Linked DNA regions of Homo sapiens: all the other regions are linked to region 1. The links are contacts of gene promoters, found by promoter capture Hi-C in blood cells and fetal thymus (Javierre and others, 2016). All regions are on one chromosome and are shown on one strand. Each heading gives the region's core, a stretch centred on a gene start or on the middle of the fragment in contact. The rest is flanking DNA. Distances are from core to core; before and after follow the strand shown.

Region 1 (3,641 bases), core at 382-2,881:
CTCGGCCTCCCAAAGTGCTGGGATTACAGGCGTGAGCCACCGTGCCCGGCCCATGATTTTAAAAAAACCTCTCAGAAATAGAAACAGAGGGAACTTCCTGAATTTGATTAAAAATACCTGCAAAATCCTAGAGCTAATATTATACTTAATGGTGAAAGACTGAATGGTTTTCCCCTAAGATGGAGAACAAGGCACGGATGTCCTTGCTCACCACTCCTATTCAACAAAGGACTGGAAACCAGAAATAACTTTAATTTTTTTTGTTCTCAAGTGATAGGTTCACAGAGAAAAAGCTTTACTGGATGAACTTTTAGATTACTACTTTTATAGAGCAGCAGAGATAAAAGCCAGGTCGAAAAGTGCATGTGGAGTAAGGAAATGGACCTAGTTCGACAAAAGGGCTCAGAACGACTGCCCAGATGAGATTGTAGACGCAGCTGTAGTTTACTTTCTATCTGGAAGAAACTTCAAGTTATCCTTAATTTTCCAAGGAGACAGTCACTTACCTTTTAAAAAACATTATTAGAGAAGCACCGGGCGGGAGCATATCTAGCATTAAAAATGTGGGATGAATACCATCTCTGCTTGGTAAAGGTGGTTGGGAATCCTGAGAGAGGGCACCTAGTGTGGCTTCTGCATTTTTCACAGTGCCTGGACCACGGCTGAAAGTAACTCTTGCATGACATTTGACAGAAGAGGAAACCGAAGCTCAGATTAAATTCCCTGTCCACAGCGGGATCATTCGGCACGAGTTCCTCCCTGTCTGGAATGCTCTTCCCCAGCAATAGATCCTGCGGCTCTTCCGTGTCTCAGTCTAATGTCATTCCGTTCCAGGATTCCCGACTTCTTAAAGCATAAATAATCCCTCCCCACCCTCTCATTGTACTGTTATGTAAGTTATTACAATATGTCATTATATATTTAGTCATACTGCTTTAGGTAATGTCTTCTCCACTGAACTGTAAGCTCCATGAGGGCAAGAGTTCAGTCGGTTTTACTTAATAATTAGCACCTAGTACAGTACTAGCATAGAATGAAGGCCTCGCAATTTTTTTTAAATTTATTTTTAGACAGGGTCTTGCGCTGTCGCCCAGGCTGGAGTGCAGTGGTGCAACCTCGGCTCACGGCAGCCTCGACCTTTCGGCTCCAGCGATCCTCCCGCGTCGGCCTCCGGGGTAGCTGGGACTGCAGGCGCGCACCACCATGACTGGCTAATTTTTTTTTTTTTTTTTTTGTAGACATGGGGTCTCGCCATGTTGCCCAGGCTGGTTCCTGAGCTCAAGTGATCCTCCTGCCTCGGCCTCCCAAAGTGCTGGGATTACAGGCGTGAGCCTCAGCGCCCAGCCAAGTTAGCCTTTTTTAAACGTCCTGTCTCCGGAGGTTGCCGAAGTTGGTTTTCTTCGGCCTCCTTCTCTCTCCCAGGCCCAGGGCTGGGACGAGGCCGGTTCCCGCCTGCAACCTGCACTGAAGACGGGAACCTTGGGAGCCGGTACCGGAACGCTCGGAAACGGCACCAAAGTACGAATCCTAGGGCGGAAAAGCGTTACCAAGACACTCGTCCCCAGAGCCGCTTCCTGGGACTCTCTAGCCTCCTACCGCTTCTCAGTGATGTTCCGGTTTCCGCCCTCCTCCTCGCGCTGTTTCCGCCTCTTGCCTTCGGACGCCGGATTTTGACGTGCTCTCGCGAGATTTGGGTCTCTTCCTAAGCCGGCGCTCGGCAAGGTAGGTTGGCGGCCTGCTCTCCGACAGAACTTTTCTTCTTGGGTTGAGGAAAACGCCTTTTGGAGTCAGGCCCTGGAGGGGCGAGCCTTGCTCACAGGGTGGGGATACAGCCGATTACCCGCCCTGTGCTTTCCGATGGCTTCTGCGGGGCGAGCGGGGCCTGGCCGGGGGGTGCGGGCGGGAGGGCGAGCCAGCGGCGCCTGCAGCCCGGGCCGCGTAACGCTGACCGCTGTGCCTTCAGTTCTCCCAGGAGAAAGCCATGTTCAGTTCGAGCGCCAAGATCGTGAAGCCCAATGGCGAGAAGCCGGACGAGTTCGAGTCCGGCATCTCCCAGGTGAGAGGGTTTCCCTGGGGTCTGGGGTGGGGGGAGGCGCCCCGCCCGGGAGGGGAGGCGGCCGCGCGTGTGTTGGGCCCGGGGTGCTCGGACGCGCGCTCAGGGTCGGTCCTGCTGTTCGTTGCTTCTTAGGCTCTTCTGGAGCTGGAGATGAACTCGGACCTCAAGGCTCAGCTCAGGGAGCTGAATATTACGGCAGCTAAGGTAAGCTGGCGCTCCCTCGGCTGGGAGGGAGGTTGCGGCGCGTCTCCCCGCGCAGTGCCTGAGAGGGTTGGACCTGGGTTACGGTTGATGATGACTTGCCGCCTGGCCGCCTAACCTGAACTCAGGTTCGGCCGTGTTGTTTGGGAGTGATACCGCCCAGGTGCGGGGAGTGGGGTTGCAGGTACCCTGCGGCTTAAGCTGTCCACATGCGGGCGGTGGAGAAACGTGGAGTAGGGAGGGCCTGGGCCCATTTCGGACCTTATTTGCCCTTACTTAGTTATAGATACGGCAAAGAGCTGTGGGGAGCTCAGGATGAGATTCTCTCTACCCTTAGCCCGGAGTTGCCGCAAGTGGGGGTGCAGAAGTGGTAGTGATTGGCCTCCTGGCCTGAACAGTCTCCCTTCCTGGAATAAGGAAATGTGAAGGTTGGAGAGAGATGAGAACATTTCCGAAGGATGCATTTATGATTAACTCAAAACTAGTATTAGTTTGTAGTGCAGCTACGGTGTTAGTGATAAGGTCTTCTTATCCTCTAATTTGACCACAACGTTTACTTTCTGAAGCAGTTAACACAGTGGATTTTTGTTTTTTTCTTTAGGAAATTGAAGTTGGTGGTGGTCGGAAAGCTATCATAATCTTTGTTCCCGTTCCTCAACTGAAATCTTTCCAGAAAATCCAAGTCCGGCTAGTACGCGAATTGGAGAAAAAGTTCAGTGGGAAGCATGTCGTCTTTATCGCTCAGGTATCTGTTCTACTGTTGCAGCACGTTTCTGTTTGTGAATTTTGCTAAAATTGCTTGTATTTAGACTGCATTGGTAGTTGGAGTCATGAAAACAATCCTTTTATGAATCCAATTGGGTAGAAAGATAAAGTACAGGCAGAGCGCCGTGGCTTAGGCCTGTAATCCCAGCACGGGGAGGTGGAGGCGGGTGGATCACTGTAGAGACCAGCCTGGGCAACATGGTAAGACCCTGTCTACAAAAAATAGAAAAAATAAGTTTTAAAAAGAAAGATAAAGTACGTTCTTTAATTAAGAGTCGAAACAAGAAGTCTGTAAAGTGACAGACTGCTGTGTTTTGAGTTATGAAAATGATTTCCCATATTTAAATTTCCACAAGTCTAGTGGGTTGCTTACATAGATGATCAAACTAAGAAACCTGTTACAGGCCGGGCCCTGTGGCTCACTCCTGTAATCCCAGCACTTTGGGAGGCTGAGGCAGGCGGATCACGAGGTCAGGAGATCGAGACCATCCTGGCTGACACGGTGAAACCCCGTCTGTACTAAAAAATACAAAAAATTAGCTGGGCGTGGTGGTGGGCGCCTGTAGTCCCAGCTACTCGGGAGGCTGAGGCAGGAGAATCGCGTGAACCCGGGAGGTGG
Region 2 (3,641 bases), core at 791-3,290, 980 kb before region 1:
GTGTGAAGTGATCGAAGACTTGCGTTGTTGTTGTTGTTGTTGTTGTTGTTTTGAGACAGAATCTTGCTCTGTCACCCAGGCTGGAGTGCAATGGTGCAATCTCAGCTCACTGCAACCTCCACCACCTGGGTTCAAGCAATTCTCCTGCCTCAGCCTCCTGAGTAGCTGGGATTGCAGGCATGTGCCACCACACCCAGCTAATTTTTGTATTTTTAGTAGAGACGGGGTTTCACCATGTTGGTCAGGCTGATCTCGAACTCCTGACCTCGTGATCCACCCGCCTTGGCCTCCCAAAGTGCTGGGATTACAGGTATGAGCCACCGCACCCGGCCAGTCTTGTGTTAAGTTGCTCAAGTTTGGATTACATTGTTATGCAGCAATAGATCGCTCTAACAGCTGTGTGTGATGGAAGGGGCCTGGACTGCAAGTTCGATTGGAACTGAGCTACACCCACTGTACGGCTGACCAGCGTGGTGACACTGAGAAGTCACTGATTCTCTGTGAGCCTCAGTTACATCATTTTTAAAATGAAAATGATTACTGACATCTGAGTTTTACTGTAAGGACTAAATGTGAATTTGCCTGGTGGTACCAGCACACAGTAGGCAATTTGTAAATACTCAACAAATCAACAGCTATCTCTCAACCCATCCTTATACATTGATTTATGGTGTAATTAAAATACTTAAATGGAATGATGCATTTCAAAACTCCTTAGTACTCTATAGCTTTGAGTGATGCTCACTGCTTTCACCGAGTTACTAAATTCAGCGCGTTGAGCTTGAGCTGCCTTAGACGCACGTGATTGTTCCATGTAGAGGGAATGCCCCTTCACCCATCAGTCCACACCAACTGCCTTGACAGTCAGTGTTACCTGCACTCCGTTGTGAGTCTTTCTAGGGAAAGTTGGCCCTTGGATGCTTGGCTCATGCTGTGGTCTGTTTGGACTCAGTAACAACCTCAGCAGCAACCACCCCAAACACAGCAAGAAGCAGAAATATACACACTGGGAAAAGGCATTCCCTGTCAACAAAAATAGCAGAGATGTTGAAGCCATAGTCTTGCACCTTGGAGGAAGGATGGCACAGTGGGAAAACCCTGGAGATGGACATCTTACTGCAGCTAACAAAGTGCATGGTTTTAGACATGTCGACATCCTCACTGGATCTTAATTTTTTTTGGTTTATCTAAAGCAAAGCAGCGGCAATTGGGTTTTTTGGAGCATTGACTTTACTCTAAGAATGGTCTTCTAGTTCTAATATACACCAGCACGTGTTTAGATCAGAGTGGGAAGGATGGAAGAAATCATTCAGATGGGAAAGTGTTGAAGAAACTAGACTCAAGAAGATCTCAGTAGCTTTCCCCAAATTACTGAAAGACTGCCATAAAAAGAGGACAGATTTGCTCCGTGTGGCCTTGTAGATTGCAGCTAAGATAAGCAGCAAGAAACTCCAATTTTCCAATTGTGTAAGTGAAAATGTCTTCGTGATCCTAATCATAAGCAGGATGATCTCCATGAGAAGCAGAGGGTTCTCTGTTACAAGGAGCGTTCAAACATATTGCATTACCATTTCGAAGGGATTTAAATTCAGCGGGTCTGGGCTTTGAGAGACATTTACAGGGACACTGTCCATGGCCACACTGACTGTGCACTCAAAAGGCAGGGGGACCACCCCCGAAGTCAGCCCCGTGATGGTGCCCCCAGAAGCTGTGGAAGGAGGAACACGGAACATGGAACACAGAAGTTGTGTAAAGGCCCTGGCCATTAGGCCTTTTCCAGCCTTGAGCATCTCTGAGCTAATCATGGCATCACCTGCAGATCTCTCAGCCACTTCAGAGCCCTCTCGTTCTGTGAATCTATGAAAACACCACTGCTGCCAGAAATTTGTGTTGCTTCATCTTAGTGTTTTTTAAAATATTGTGTTGTGTTAAACCTGTCTTTAAACTTAGACCAGTAAAATCTGATAATAAAATCTTACTGATTCTAAAAGGAGTCCAGTGCTCTTCTTTCTAATGAAAGTTAACAGATAATATCACTGAGGCACTAGCATCTAATGTATGTATGTGGGTATGCCCTTGTGTGTACTGAGCAAGCATAACTCATGTCATAATCAACTAGAACGCAGCTCAATGGTTAGCATTTGGTCCTTTAAGAGTTTTTCAGTGAAAATATTTTTCCCAAAAAAAACCTCTCTTTGTCTATTTTATTCATTTTTAGGTACTAGACAATGTTAGGGTAACTTAAATCACAGAGTCTCAATTCAAAAGTTAGATCGTTGAGAGCAAATATGAATCAAAGCTGTGAATCTGATTTCACAGCACAGTCTCCTGTGCTGCTGTGGCTTGGCCTGGAGTGGAAAAGAAGCCTGCATTTAGCTTCCCTGTTTCTCTTCCAGCCCTTCTCCCTCCTCCTACACCCAGCTTTTAGTTTGCTGGGCCCTCTCCCATGTTGGAGCCCGGAGAAGCAAGATGAAGGACAGAAGCATTCTTGTTACGCTCATGCTGTTATAAGCTGGCCTTCCACTCTCTGTGGCAGATTTTTGAAACAGATTCTTTCTCTCACGGACACTTCTGAGTGTTTTTTGAAAATTAGCTTTGCTGTGGCTTCTCTCCTGCCGTGCCTCTGACCCGGTAGATGAATCTCTCTTGTGGGAGGCTGTATGACTCCTCCCACGGTTCCCAGTGAGTGTGTGTCCTCCACCAACTTCTTGGCGCTGGGTCCCTCTGCCCCCCTTGGCAGAACTTCTGGAGAGATCTGTCGGCAACCTGCTCTCAGGTCTCTCTTCCCCACACAGCATGTTAAACTCTTATCCAATCCTTACTTCAATAAACTCCAGGAGTGTGCAGACCCCTCTCAACACAGCAGCAAGAGGCTGAATGGCGTCCTCCAGCAGAGGCAGACACCAGGAGACTCTCTTGTCAGCTGCAGGGGACATAGACTTTGAAGTTCCCTCTCACCAGGACTGGAGACACAAAATAATGCTAAAACATTTCTTCACACCTTTTCCTTTCCCCCCAGCCCAGCAATTGTGTATTCAGAGTGGGTGAGGAAGTTCGGGAGTGGAGGAGTTATTCTGAGTGATTTCCTTTGTTGAGTCTGCTTAGAGGGTTTCCCCCTCTCCTGGATGTCTGATAGCTGCCAGATGGATGCTTCCATTGACATCGAGGCAGGAAAATTACCATTTGACATCCTACTTCACATACAAGACATAATTTCCTATGAAACGTATTTAACATAATATATAACATATTTAATAGCACCCTGCCAAGGTAGGCTTAATTGTCTCCATTTACATAGAAAGAAAGTCAGACTTGACGAAGTGGAGTAATCTGGGGGCGCACATAGGCAACAAGAGGCAGAGCTGAGATTCCGCCGGACGCCAGGAGCCCTTTGCACGAGACCTGTGATTTCTCAGCTTGAACATGTACCGTAATCACCTGGAGGGCCTGGGGAATGCTGAGCCGCACCCCAAGAGCTTCTGATTCAGGTATGGGGTGGGGCCTGATAATTTACGTTTCTAACTCCTTTCCAGGTGAGGCCAAATGTGGCCACTGGTCTGAAGGCCCTGCGTGGAGAAACACTGCATTCATGACACTGACCTAACTTCCCTAAATCAACACGCTCCTCTCTTCTCTTCCCT
Region 3 (3,641 bases), core at 667-3,166, 930 kb before region 1:
GGGAAAATCAGGGAGAGAGATCCAGAGAGAGAGAGCGGGAGAGAGAGAGACTACAGTATACTAATTTCTGATGTAATGCCTTAGAAGCATGGTTTAAAGACAATTCTAAATTAAAATATTTTCTATATGGTTACAGAGAGTAAATCTTACTACTTATTATGTTTTATTTATCCTCATTTCGGCATTTTAATTTATAGGCTATTTAAGCCCAGCCAGTAGTAAGAGTCAGAAGAATGTTACCTCTTAAGACAACCTTGCATGCAGATTGTTTTATGTGAGCCTAGGGAATTAAACATTTTTTGTAGCACTTTTTCTTTTGCTCAAATTTGTAAACTGTATCAGGAAGTATATAAAACATAGTACACATTTTTAGAATACCATGAAATAAAGTGACAGGATGCTGTTGAATGCATTTGAACACCGTCTGATACCAACTTATCATCTTCCCAGGGTCTGCCTGCCATCATGGGGAGGTGCAAGGCGGCACAGTTTTCTGAGTAGCCGGAGCTTCCGAGAGCCAGACCCAGCCAGAGGTGGCAGCCCCATGGGCTTGGGAAGCCCCAGCTAGGGGATGGACAGCCAGAGACAGACCTGAGAGGCCACCAGGCCGACACAGGACTCGCCGTCCTGGGGGAACGAGGGCAGCCCAGGATGCAGGGAACAGGCGGCACACAGAGGCCAAACCTTAACCCCTCAGCGCTGAGAAATGGGCTCCCACGCAGCTGCACCTTGATCGCAGTGGGCTCACAAGCAGGGCAAGACTGAGCCACGTGGTGTGAAATTTGATTGCCATGGTGCTGAGCAGGCGTGGGACTGGCACGACACTGGGGATCTCTGCTGTCACATTTCCTTACACTGAACAGCTTGGCTTCTGGCGGAGGAGGCACTTTGGCCGTAAGAGGCTGAGTCCTGACTTGCCAGCCCCGGATGCCCACCAGCCGCTGTGTCTGCGCCAGATGCTCTGTGCCCCATGCTAGAGGCTGGCTGTGCTCTGGGGTTTGGTGCCTCTTTCTGTCACTGGGAAGGGACCCAGGGGTCCATCCAGCCCCTTCTTGGGCATAGACATCAGGGAATGTCAGGTCATTCTGTCGCATGCCCAGGAAGCTCAGGCCACAGTAAGCAAGCCAGGCTGGACGACATCACCGGGGTCAATGTCAGCCCACGTTGGCCACCAGACGTCCTGGAGCACCAGGGTTTCAGCAGCTGGACTGGGGCCTCCTCCAGCCCGTGGGCCCCTGGGCTGTCTCCCCTTGTCTGACTTGGTGCCAACTCGAGAGAATCTGGTCCCAGCAGAGGGAATGCAGGAGGCCCAGCCTAGGCACAGGGGTTGCTGCCAGCCCCGACCCGGCTGAGGCCCCAGCAAGCCGTGAAGCAGAACCTGTCCAGGTGGCATCCTTAACTTCTTGCCCTAATATTACACTAACGCCAGCGACAGAGCACACAGCAACACAACAACAACCACACACCACCACAACAACACAACATCACAACACAACAACAGCACACACCACCACCGCCACCACATTACATTCCCACCAGTGAGAGAGCACACGACAACACAACAACCATGCAACCACACAACCACACCACACACCACCACCACCGCAACACAACATCACAACACAACCACACAGCAGAACAACAACCACACACCACCACCATATTACATTCCCACCAGTGACAGAGGACACAACCACACAACAACAACACAACCACACAACACAACCACACCACACAATACCACCACATCACAACACAACCACACAGCAGAACAACCACACAACCACACTACACCACCACCACCACCAGTGGCAGAGCACACAACAACACAACCACACAACAATGACACAACCTTATCACACACCATCACAACATCACAACACAACCACACAATGACAGAACAAAACACAATCACAGAACCACACCACCACACAAAATCACAACAACACAACTGCACAACAGAAAAACAATAACACAACAACACAACACTACACAACACAACACCACCACCACAACAGCAGCAGCAGAGCGTCCCGGAGTTCCCCGCCTGCTCTGGAGGCTGTGGCCTGGCCACACAAGCTCTTCCCCTCCTCAGTCTTCCACAGGGATTCCTGCCTGGTCAGGCCTCTTCTCGGAGACTTGGTGAAGTAGAAGCGGGCAGAGATAGGCAGGAGCTGCAAGCTAAAAGCCACCAATGACCAGACTGGAGGAGAACCTGGGGTGGGAGATCGCTGAGCTGAGCTCAGGAGCAGGTGTGGATTGAGAGGAGCACGTGGCTGTGCCCTGTCCTCTGGGCTCAGAGCCCCTGGGACTGCATCCTGTGAGAGCAGCTCTTGCCACCACCTCCCCTCCACCTCTGAGCACCCTGTCCACCATTCCAACCACCATGTCCCCTCCACCTCTGGGCACCCTGTCCACCATTCCAACCACCACCTCCCCTCCACCTCTGGGCACCCTGTCCGCCGTTCCAGCCACCACCTCCCCTCCACCTCTGGGCACCCTGTCCGCCGTTCCAGCCACAACCTCCCCTCCACCTCTGGGCACCCTGTCCGCCATTCCAGCCACAACCTCCCCTCCACCTCTGGGCACCCTGTCCGCCGTTCTAGCCACCACCTCCCCTCCACCTCTGGGCACCCTGTCCGCCGTTCTAGCCACCACCTCCCCTCCACCTCTGGCCACCCTGTCCACCCTTCCACCCACTGCCTTCAGAAAACCTGGCCTCCTCGGCTGCCTGCACCTTGTGTGCTCCCAGATCTCTGTGTGGCTCCCACACAGCACTCGGCCGTTCTGCCTGACATGGAAAGGACCAGGGCTGAACACGGTAGCAGCGCCTGCATGGCGCAGGCTGTGGAGTTGACAGAACTCTTCCACACATTGTCTAAGTGTCTCTTGTACAACCTTGTGAGAAAGGACACTGATCAGAGGCCATGGGGCTCGCCAGCATCCACGCTCTCCCCTCCTTCCTGGGCACACAGCTGGGCTCGTATCTCCAGCCCCCTTGGGCTGCAAGGTGGAGCTCTGGTCACCGGAATGTGAGCCGAGAGCCCAGCCCCACTTCCAGCCATGAACCTGAGAGGCCCCTATGAGCCTGAATTTCCTCCCCAGTGGGCTGATGGGGGAACCCTTTGAGGACCGGCGGGAGGAGCCACCACATGGAAGGGCCCTGCTGATCACCATTCTCCTGCAACGCGAGACACAGCCAGGGCGGGGGTCAAGGAGGCTTCCAGGGGCACACTGTGAGCAGGAGCCCTCTCTGGACCCCGCAGGGTCAGGTGGCCTTACTTTCATTCTGCACCCCGCAGGGTCAGGTGGCCTCACCTTCATTCTGTACCCGTGGCACCTGCTTGCCTCAGTTGGCTCTGACCATGGTGAGAAACAGACCTCAGTGTTGCCAAGCCACTGAAATCAGGTTTCCTATAGGAGTTATAGGAATTCAGCTCTATAGCAGTTATACTCATCCTAACTAATACAGGTGGATGGGTATTCTGTGTTTTTTTATTCAAAAGTGAGGAAACCATGGTTTTAAAGCTCTGTGATTTACCCGAAGTCACACAGCAGAAAACTGAGCCGAACTCCTGTTAGCATACAAGGTGCCAGTGTAGACCATCTGGTGGGTTTATTCTGCTGCTTCACACACCTGG
Region 4 (3,641 bases), core at 578-3,077, 890 kb before region 1:
TAATTCTTTTTATTTTAAAGCTCGAAAATCTCTAACATCTGCCACCAAAAGACTTGACACCCTCCCCCCGTCTTTTTTAGGGCAGAGGAAATGATAGAGATCTTTAGGCTTTTGAAGTTGTCTTGGTCCGTTTTGTGCTGCTGTAACATAATATTACAGACTGGGTAATTTATAAAGAAAAATAATTGATTGCTTACAGTTCTGGAGGCTGGAAAGTTCAAGGACACGGTGCCAGCATCTAGTGAGGGTCTTGCTGTTGCGTCATCCCAGGGTGGAAGGCAGAAGGGCAAAAGAGCACTCAGAGAATAAGGGTGGGTAAGAGGGGGCTGACCTCACTTTTTTCAGGATCACACTCCTGCCATGTAGACATTGATCCCCTCATGAGGCCTAATCACCTCTTGATAGTCCCACCTCTAATACATCACAAGGGCAATTAAATTTTAACTTGAGTTTTGGAGGGACTGTTCAAACCACAGCAGCAGGGATCCCTAATGAGTTAATATAAGACACTGTTACTTCCAATACACAGACATGTTTAAGAGTTGCTATTGTGTGGCTTATGTCATAGAACAGAAGGAAGTTAAATGGATTGGCCGGGTGGCTGGCTGCTTTTTGATTTGTTTGTTCACCTACTTCGCTTTGTTTCCTTCCTATCTTAAGGAATTTCTTGATACAATTATTCATTTATTCATTTAACAAATATTCTTACCTCCTGTTCCTAATGATAATAATAGCAGTTGCTGTGTCTATTGAATTCTTAAATGTACCAGACATTATGTTAGTAATTCTATGTGTGTGCTATCTCCTCATTACATTAGACCTAAAAATGGGTGTTCTATTTCCATTTTGCACATAAGGAAATAGAGGGTAAGGTGTGGGCAGGTGCTGTCTCTAGGGGTAGAGTGTGGGGCAGACATTCTTTCCCTTTAAATGACTTGTTAGATTTTACATAGGGCCACAAAGATGAATACATCTCCCACTGCCTCTGAGAAGCTTATACAGATGAAAATATGTAAAACAAGGTTAAAAGTGACAAAAGACATAAGAAAGTCTGATAGAAAGGTGAAGAAAATTCAGAGAAGAAAGGATCATTCTCTACTGGGGGGATTAGGGAAGGTTGTCTAGAAAGGGGATTCGGAGAAGAGGGAAAGGGGCGAGGAGCAGAGGCTGGAAAGCACAGAGAACCCAGGCAGGCTCATTCTGATGAGATCATCGAGACACGAAGATTTGATGTTTTACATTAGCAAAATTATATATTATAACAGAATTGTCTAATCACACAAGAACACTTATAAAAACTGTGGCAGATGTATGCAGAGAGAGCACAGGAAGTGGTCACGTGAGGAGCCAAAGCCTGCAAAGGAAACAGCCGCAGCAGCCAGGAGGGACGGGATGCAGAGGAGCAGCTGGGAGGTCTAGGAAAAGGGCAGGTCAAGCTCTCCTATGTCCAGTGCAGAGACGGACCAAGCAAAACCAAGGCTGGGTTGTATCTGCTTCCTTTACCATCAAAGAGGACATCGCTGAGCTCAGGGAAACGTGGGATGAAGGAAGAACAGAAGAGGAAGGCAGAGAGGACGGCAGGGACTCCATCTGAGGGGAGATAGCAGATGAAGAGGAAGAAGATAGATGATTCTTTCAGGAAGGAAGGATGTGAAGAGAAGAAATAAGCAGCACTTGGAGCGGGCAAGGGAACCAAGAAATGTTCTTACTTTACTTTTTCTTTTTTTTTTTTTGTATTTTTTTTGGAAGAGACGGGTTTCGTCATGTTGCCCAGGCTGGTCTTGAACTCCTGAGCTCAGGGTATCCGCCCGCCTCAGCCTCCCAAAGTGCTGGGATTACAGGCTTGAGCCACCGCATGTGGCCCTGTTCTTACTTTTTAATGTGCTGTTTAAGTGGGAGAGACATAAGCACATGATGTGCCTGCAGGAAGGGGCCCAGGGTGACTGAGGTGGAGGATGCAGGAGCCAGCGTGGGCCCTGGAGAAGGCAGGAGCCAGGAGTGAGAAGAGCTGCAAGCAGGGGCCTGGCCGTGGGAAGAGGCCTCCACCTGTCACATGGAAGTCTTGCTAGGGAGAAGGAAATCATCCTTATAAACACACACCAGGGCCTGCTGGGGGATGGAGGGCGAGGTGAGGGAACTTCGAGGACAGGTCAGTGGGTGTAGCAAACCACAATGCACACGTTAACCTATGTAACAAACCTGCACGCTCTGCACATGTATCCTGGAACTTAAACTAAAAAATAAAAATAAACTATCTTCATGCATCCTTTTTCACCTGCATTTCTGATGACATAATTAGTACAGATAAATGACCCACAGTTTGATGTATCCGTCTCAGGCCCCCCACCCCCCGCACTCTGCCAACCACTCAAGCCCACAGGCCCGCCTCCCTCCTCAGCAGGCCTTCGAGAGGCCCCACCTACCTCCCAGCCTTGGAGACAGAGGCAGGATCCTGGGGGAACAAACAGCTCCTTGATGTCCTGTCACCCCCAGCTGATCAGGAGCTTATGGGAGAGAGAGTCCTCTTCAAAAAATTGTCTTTACATGGTGCATGAAAACATGCTACTGGACAAATTTTAGTAGAATAAAACTAACAATTAGCAGGAAAAATTGTTTAGATTAAAAGAGGTTATTCAGATTTTTTAGGAGTAAAACTCAAAAGAAGCTTGATATTTTAAAATATATTATTGCAACTGAAAACCTAACTATGAGAGTTAGAATTGCATGTCCTGAGGATGGACGTTTGTCAGGATTGGAGCCCAGGCTTTAAGGGGGTCCTGGCAGTCCCCTCCTGGCACTGTCACCCTGGCAGCCTCTCCTCCCCTGTGAGGGTGGATGGGACCTGCGGCTGGTTTCTACTCAGCAGAATGTGCCAGTTGCAGGGGTTAGGGACACCATGCCTGTGATCACACTGCACTACCCTGGATGCCGCCTCTCCAGGAGACTCACACTGGAGGTTCTCCTTGCTGGCTTGATGAAGCAAGAAAGACCTGCCAGCAAGGAACTGCGGATGACCTCTAGGAGCTGAGAATGACCTCGAGGAACTGAGGGTGTCCTCCAAATGATGGACAGCAAGGACCTGGGGCCAGTGATCCTGCAAACACTAGGAGATGGATTCTGCAACCACCTATGTGAGCATGGAGGTGGATTCTTTCACAGTCGAGCTTCTAGAGGGGAATGCACCCTGGTCAGCGTCTTAATTGCAGCCTTGTGAGACCAGAACCAAAGCCCCTGCTAACCTGAGCTCTGACTCCTGCCCCACAGGAACTACAAGATCATAAATACTGTTTATGCCACTGCATTGTGGTCATTTGTTACCAGCCGTGGATGACTGACAGGTGACAGGAAACCTCCTGGCAGCTCCTCTCACCTGCTTCCTCCCTATGTAGGGCCTCTCTTGACATCCCTGGCCACGAACGCAAGCCTCTTCCCAGCCCCACCACACTCACGGGGCTGATGAACTTTAGGCTGCCTGTGCTGGTTTTGGACAATTTCTCTCATTCTTCCCATTGGTGATTTGATATCCTACTTTCTCTCGGTTTCTCAGTGTGAGGGAGACCCAGACACATCACAGGTCTGTCCTTAGTGAACCGGGCACACAACTGGGGCCTGTTTCTTAGACCCCTTGCACACTCCACACT

The links. Contacts are between HindIII fragments. The CHiCAGO score rates a contact against its expected background, and 5 or more counts as called.
Region 2: a contact is called between a fragment that was not itself captured here and the fragment with the promoter of RPS7 in region 1, in 2 of 17 cell types (naive CD8 T cells and activated CD4 T cells). The highest score is 6.8, in naive CD8 T cells.
Region 3: a contact is called between a fragment that was not itself captured here and the fragment with the promoter of RPS7 in region 1, in 5 of 17 cell types (fetal thymus, naive CD4 T cells, naive CD8 T cells and 2 more). The highest score is 12.4, in fetal thymus.
Region 4: a fragment that was not itself captured here is called in contact with the fragment with the promoter of RPS7 in region 1 in 5 of 17 cell types (fetal thymus, naive CD4 T cells, non-activated CD4 T cells and 2 more); the score reaches 18.9 in fetal thymus.

Annotation. Positions count from the first base shown.
Region 1 is chr2:3,573,629-3,577,269 of GRCh38, forward strand. RPS7 (ribosomal protein S7) reads left to right here and starts at 1,632. Exons shown (of 7, transcript NM_001011.4): 1 at 1,632-1,722; 2 at 1,964-2,056; 3 at 2,189-2,260; 4 at 2,859-3,002. The coding sequence starts at 1,982. It overlaps LOC124907726 (a long non-coding RNA gene), which reads right to left and starts at 1,481. Exons shown (of 2, transcript XR_007086196.1): 1 at 507-1,481. RefSeq lists enhancers at 1,185-1,760, 1,761-2,337 and a silencer at 1,889-2,178. The HindIII fragment of the contact is 5,628 bases long and covers 292-3,641 here.
Region 2 is chr2:2,597,970-2,601,610 of GRCh38, forward strand. No RefSeq gene overlaps it. Among named protein-coding and RNA genes, the nearest start is that of MYT1L, 270 kb to the left of the region's middle. The HindIII fragment of the contact is 5,035 bases long and covers 1-3,641 here.
Region 3 is chr2:2,642,479-2,646,119 of GRCh38, forward strand. No RefSeq gene overlaps it. Among named protein-coding and RNA genes, the nearest start is that of MYT1L, 310 kb to the left of the region's middle. The HindIII fragment of the contact is 6,388 bases long and covers 1-3,641 here.
Region 4 is chr2:2,685,073-2,688,713 of GRCh38, forward strand. No RefSeq gene overlaps it. Among named protein-coding and RNA genes, the nearest start is that of MYT1L, 360 kb to the left of the region's middle. The HindIII fragment of the contact is 1,672 bases long and covers 992-2,663 here.